Regions from separate parts of the Homo sapiens genome. Here region 1 is linked to region 2. The links are contacts of gene promoters, found by promoter capture Hi-C in blood cells and fetal thymus (Javierre and others, 2016). All regions are on one chromosome and are shown on one strand. The core of a region is centred on a gene start or on the middle of the fragment in contact, and the rest is flanking DNA. Distances in the headings are between cores, read along the strand shown. Region 1 holds the start of CC2D2A (coiled-coil and C2 domain containing 2A). Region 2 holds the start of FAM200B (family with sequence similarity 200 member B).

Region 1 (2,700 bases), core at 124-2,623, 210 kb before region 2:
TTTTTCACAGTTCTGGTGGCTGGGAAGTCCAAGATCAAGGGGCTGGCATCCTGCAAGGGTCTTCTTGCTGCACCATCCTATGGTGCAAGGCAAGAAAACATGAGAGCAAGAAAGAGAAAGAGAGAAAACGAGGCCAAATTCATTCTTTTATAAGGAATCCACTCCTGCAATAATGGCATTAATGCATTTATGAGGGCAGAGCCCTACAGCCTAATTGCCTCTCATTAGGTGCCACCTCCCGACACCATTGTGTTAGGGATTAAGTTTCCAATACATGCTTTTGGGAAGACACATTCAAATCATAGAACATGGCATGCCACACAGGACCACATAGGGAAGAACCAATGTTGGTCAGAAGGCAGAACGGAGACAGCAGAGTACAGCACAGAGCCTTTACTAGGGTTTTCCCAGGAAGGAATAGGTGAAGCAGGGTAGGGTGCTGCATAAATTTAGGAGTGGATAGCTTGAATAATCGTGGTGTTCTCTGGGCTATAGTGGTCTGGTATCTGGACCTGGGGTGACTTAGGACAGGAGGAATATTGGCTTAGTGTGTGAGAGTTTGATAATGGAGATGGTTGTGTGGGCTCTGGATTGGTTGGCTTGTATATCAAAGGAGACTTTGCATATTTCAGGGGAATCATTTGCTATCTCTAGAAATTAGCTAACATAGGAGAATCAGTTTCTCCAGGATCAAGGCTCCAAATGCCAGAGCATCAAGAATACAGAAAATAAGAAGATACAGTCAATACACATACACACAAACATACACACACCATACACACAGACACAAATACACACAAACACATGTGCACATACACACTAGTCTATTGGAGTGTGTTTCCTTGGCTCCATTCATTCTATTACTCTTCCAGCTACTTTGCCTCCTACCTCTCCCTCTTTTTTTTTTTCCAACTTTTTTGAGCCATAACATTTATATCCGTTTTCAGGAATTGCAGTGGGATTCAGAGAATAGGCAAAGATTAAACTTGTGCGTTCAACCTTCCACTTTTAACTGGAAAACACTCAAGTGCAACATTTGTTGGTACTCTGCAGCACCTCCACAGAGCTTTTGCTGCTGCCACGTTAGACAGCTTCACCATGTAATGACGACCTTTTAAGATTCTAAATCCCCCCACCTCTGAGCCTGTTCTTCATTGGAAATGCAAGACGACCGGATGACATGAGGGAGGGGCAGCTCTTAAGGCTTGACCTAATTTCCAGTGCTGCTCATGTTGATTTCTCTCCGTCCTTCTACTGCAGGCTGTGCGTCTCTGCTTACCCAGCATGCTTGTACTCCACTACTGGAAGTAGCCTGTCACTTTAAAGGAAAAAAAAAAAAGCTACCGAGTGACCTTCCTTAGGAACGGGTTGCTAAGCTGGTGTTTTTGCTCCAAGACATGGCTGCAGCTTCCCAGGGAGGAGCCCAGGGGCATCTCCAACACTCAGCCTTTCCCTCCGGACCCTTTTAAAAGATTCAACAGCACCGTCTCTCTCCACTTCCATCCTAGAATGCAGAATCTGCAAAGTGCCTTTTGTAAAGTTTCTTAAGGTAAATCAGTCCCTAACCGGACTTTAGGCTGCAACAGTGATTTCCTGTTTTCAGTTACCCGGCTTGAAGTTCAGCCTCTCCAGGATACCGTGAGACTGGATTTAATGAATTGTAAATTTAGGGGCTCTCATCGTTATTTATGTTTTTACTTTCTGAAATGGGAACATAGACCATTACTTGGCAGCTTTGATTTGAGCTGCTATCTGGTATCTGGTTTGCAGGAAATGTAAGTCCAGTTCATCACAAGTCCTGAGTGAAAATGCTCTCTGACCAAAGCTCTGTGAAACATTAGCTGCGTGTTGCATTTATGGGCCTTTTAGTTCAAACTGGCTTAAGGGGAGAAGCACTAATTACTGCAAAATACACTTTTCTTGGTATGAGACAGAGAAAGGGCTACTAACCACAGTGCTAAGAGTTGCTGTGCTTTCCAAAGACTTCAAGAAAATGTACTGGCTACAACTTAAGCTGATTGTTTGTTTCCCTTCATTGCAAAGAGGTGGTATGAAAAGCTAATAAAGTCAAATAAGAAATATGTTTGCTACTGCATTTTCATATAACCTTTTCTGCAAATAAATTCAGCACCAGCATGAAATCTCTCTCTCTCTCTCTCTCTCTCTCTCTCTCTCTCTCTCTATATATATATATATATATATATATATATATATATATATATATATCCTAGAGCTCACTTATAGAGTCATTCATTCAAACATTTATGGAGCATCAACAATGCACCAGGCAATGAATTTAAGTTTAGAGTGTGCAAACATAAATTAGACTAGGTCAGAAGCTCAGAATTTGCTGGGAAAACAGACCTATAAACACATGATAAGAGTACAATGAGCTAAGTGCCATAAGAGATTTATAAAAACACTGAGAGGACAGTGGGATGACATCCAGGGAGGGGCTTCCAGTACTTAGCACATCATGTAAATGCACTGGTCATATATCACGTAACACAGCTCAAATATGGTACTCATGTGTACTCTTCAAGGCCAGTGTACATTATATCGAGCTGATTAAATGATTCTATAAAGCTATTGGTCACTAACCTTATGCTAAGGGAAACTGCAGCTGGAATAACTTGTAGAATAAGATAATGTATTCCAAAACAATGTATGTGGCACCTCCCCAGGTGTCCAAGCTCCAGG
Region 2 (2,700 bases), core at 175-2,674:
GCTCACCCCTGTAATCCCAGCACTTTGGGAGGCCCAAGTGGGTGGATCACCTGAGGTCAGGAGTTCGAGACCAGCCTGGCCAAAATGGTGAAACCCCGTCTTTGTATTTTTGAAAAATACAAAAATTAGCCTGGCATGGTGGCGGTCGCCTGTAATCCCAGCTACTCGGGAGGTTGTGGCAGGGGAATCGCTTGAACCAGGAGGCTGAGGTTGCAGTGAGCCGAGGCTGCGCCACTGCACTCCAGCCTGGGCGAGAGAGTGAGACTCCGTCTCAAAAATTAAAAAAAAAAATCCAGTTGGAGAATCAAAAATTTTTAAAAATTTGACTGTGTAATCCTACAAGAAGTAAGTAGCTTGAGAAAGAGAAATGCTGATAAAGTCGCATTAAGTTTCAGAGTTGAAATTCAAGCTCCTGTATCTAACATGTTTCCCTGTTTAAGGTAGAATTTAAAAAAAAACTATATATGACATATATATGTCAACCCAAAAAAATAAAGCAGTATATATTATATATATAAGAATATATATATATTCTCCTTTATATGTTTTTTGTTTCACATATATATATAAATATATATCTCAACCACAAAAAAATTTGGTTTGTGACAAAGATGCACTTATTTGCACGAACCTATCTTGTTAATGATCAAGAAATCTGCTTTGTTACAATCATTAGAGGACAGAAATATACATACATATTTAAATCTATTTAATGAAATGCAGTTTTATGTTAAAAATCAATGATCTGCTAACCTAAAGAGTCGCACAGGAATACTATGATTATTAAACACAATGCGATTCTCTAAATAAGTAAACACGTGCAATGATATCAAAGTTCAAAATTCTCTAATTCTTCCACAAAGACTATGAAAATCACCTTGGAGTGTATGAACCAGCGTCCTGGCCCCGCCAGGTCGGGGCTGGGGCGGGCGCGGGCCGGGAGCGCTTACCCCGCGGCAGGAGCGATTCAGCGCCACTACCTGCTTCGCCTGGTTGTGGTGTGGCTGCTGCGCCAACCGAAAGGCCTCCTTAATCCGCAGCAGTCTCTTTTCGCTCCCATGGCTCTGGGACTCTGTCCGGACTAGCCCTGTCCGCGCTCGGCTACATCCGGCCCGCCCACCAGCTCAGAGGCAGAGTTCTCCGCGGTGTCTCCTAGGGTTTCTTGTCAGAGGGCCCCAGGCGCCTAGGGAGTCGTTACCGCCCTGGCATTCAAATAACTCCCGCGAGAGGCGGAAATCCCGCGAGACTGCCGACAGAGCGTAGGGAAGTGGAAAAGTGGAGCCTGCACCGCCCGCTCCCGGCACCCCCGGACACCGCCCCGGTCTCACGCATGCGCAGAGGGCCGATCCAGTTCTTTTCGGCTGGAATGGGGAATTTGTGAGGTAGGCCGGAAGTGGTGTTGCGGAGGGAAGTGTGGGGAGAGCAGAGGCGCAGCTCTGCTGGAGAGACCTGAGGCTTGCAGCGCTGGGCCCGGCCGGGTCGCTGCGGCTGGGCTGGAGGTGAGGCGAAAGAAGGGCATCCTCTGATGGGAGTGGACCGGAGTCCGCTAAAGCGAAGCATTCCAGGGTTCGTTGCGGGAAATACAGTCTGGTTTTGCCCCCCGTATGAATTGAGGGAAGGTGAGAGCAGAAGCAATCCGGGCCTGAAGGGCGATTATTCTAGGGTCGGCCGAGGGGTTCAGGCCAAAGTTCATTGAAATCCTAGCTGGGTCCCTGGAGGACGAGAAAACCGGTCAGGAGTCTCCTGGGAAGAGGGTCATGTTTTAATCTAGCTAAAGCTGGTACCTGGCAGTTTCCACTCTTAAGGCCTAGTGTACTAACTAATGTGTGCGCAATGTCAAAACAGGAAACAAAGGGAAATGCAAGAGGTGGAAGGTAATTTTAAGTTAGTGGCAGTATGACAGATTTCCAGTGCCTTCAGGAAGGTATCCAGCCTTAAAGATGCTTTTTTTAAATAGACGATTTTAGACAGAAAAAAGGTAGAAACAAAACTATAACACATGTGTACTCACCACTGAATTGGAGAAATAAATGATTATATAAGTGATTGAAGTCCTTTGTCAGCTCTACCCCGTCTCATTCTCTTTCCTTTTGCCTAAGGAAACCACTCTCCTAACCACCTTTATGCAATCTGTAATGTGTACATCTTTTTGCAGCTAGCTTGTTTTACATAATGTTTTTGAGATTTGTCAGTGTTGTGTAACTCCACCTTATTCATCTTAATAGCTGAACAGATATTCTGTTATTTTAATATGTCACTGTTCATTGTTTAGTATCTCCAGTGCCTGACATACTTTAGGCACTGTAGGTAGCTAAATGTTAGTTGAATGCATGGCTGCTGTAGCATTTGAACTAAGTAGAAAAGAATAAATAGGACTTCATGTGACCCAACAAGAGTATTCCAGGCAAAAGGAATACTAGCCAAAAGCAGAGACATGAAAGTGCATGAACTATTTCAAGAATTTCCATACTTTTAGTACTGAAATGTAGAATGTATGGAGATCATGTGATGAAGGAGAAACCTGGAAAGATGAGGCTTAAGCTTAAAGGATATTATCCTGAAGAGCTTACACAAGCTCGGCGCCATTAAATGCTTTTCCAGTTATGAGGAAGCTGATTAGAGCTGTATTTTCAGAAGATGATACAGCGCACTAGAGATATATCTTAGGATATAAAAGATTAGTGACGGGGAATTTTAGAC

Evidence for each region. The method cuts DNA at HindIII sites, captures the fragments that hold promoters and counts their contacts. A CHiCAGO score of 5 or more calls a contact.
Region 1: the fragment with the promoter of CC2D2A here is called in contact with the fragment with the promoter of FAM200B in region 2 in 17 of 17 cell types (M2 macrophages, M1 macrophages, M0 macrophages and 14 more); the score reaches 21.8 in M2 macrophages.

What each region holds. Positions count from the first base shown.
Region 1 is chr4:15,468,509-15,471,208 of GRCh38, forward strand. It overlaps CC2D2A (coiled-coil and C2 domain containing 2A), which reads left to right and starts at 1,374. Exons shown (of 37, transcript NM_001378615.1): 1 at 1,374-1,549. The HindIII fragment of the contact is 6,808 bases long and covers 1-2,700 here.
Region 2 is chr4:15,680,403-15,683,102 of GRCh38, forward strand. It overlaps FAM200B (family with sequence similarity 200 member B), which reads left to right and starts at 1,425. Exons shown (of 2, transcript NM_001145191.2): 1 at 1,425-1,499. It also overlaps a transcript of FBXL5 not described here. RefSeq lists enhancers at 925-1,224, 1,395-1,634, 1,645-1,694. The HindIII fragment of the contact is 4,207 bases long and covers 1-2,539 here.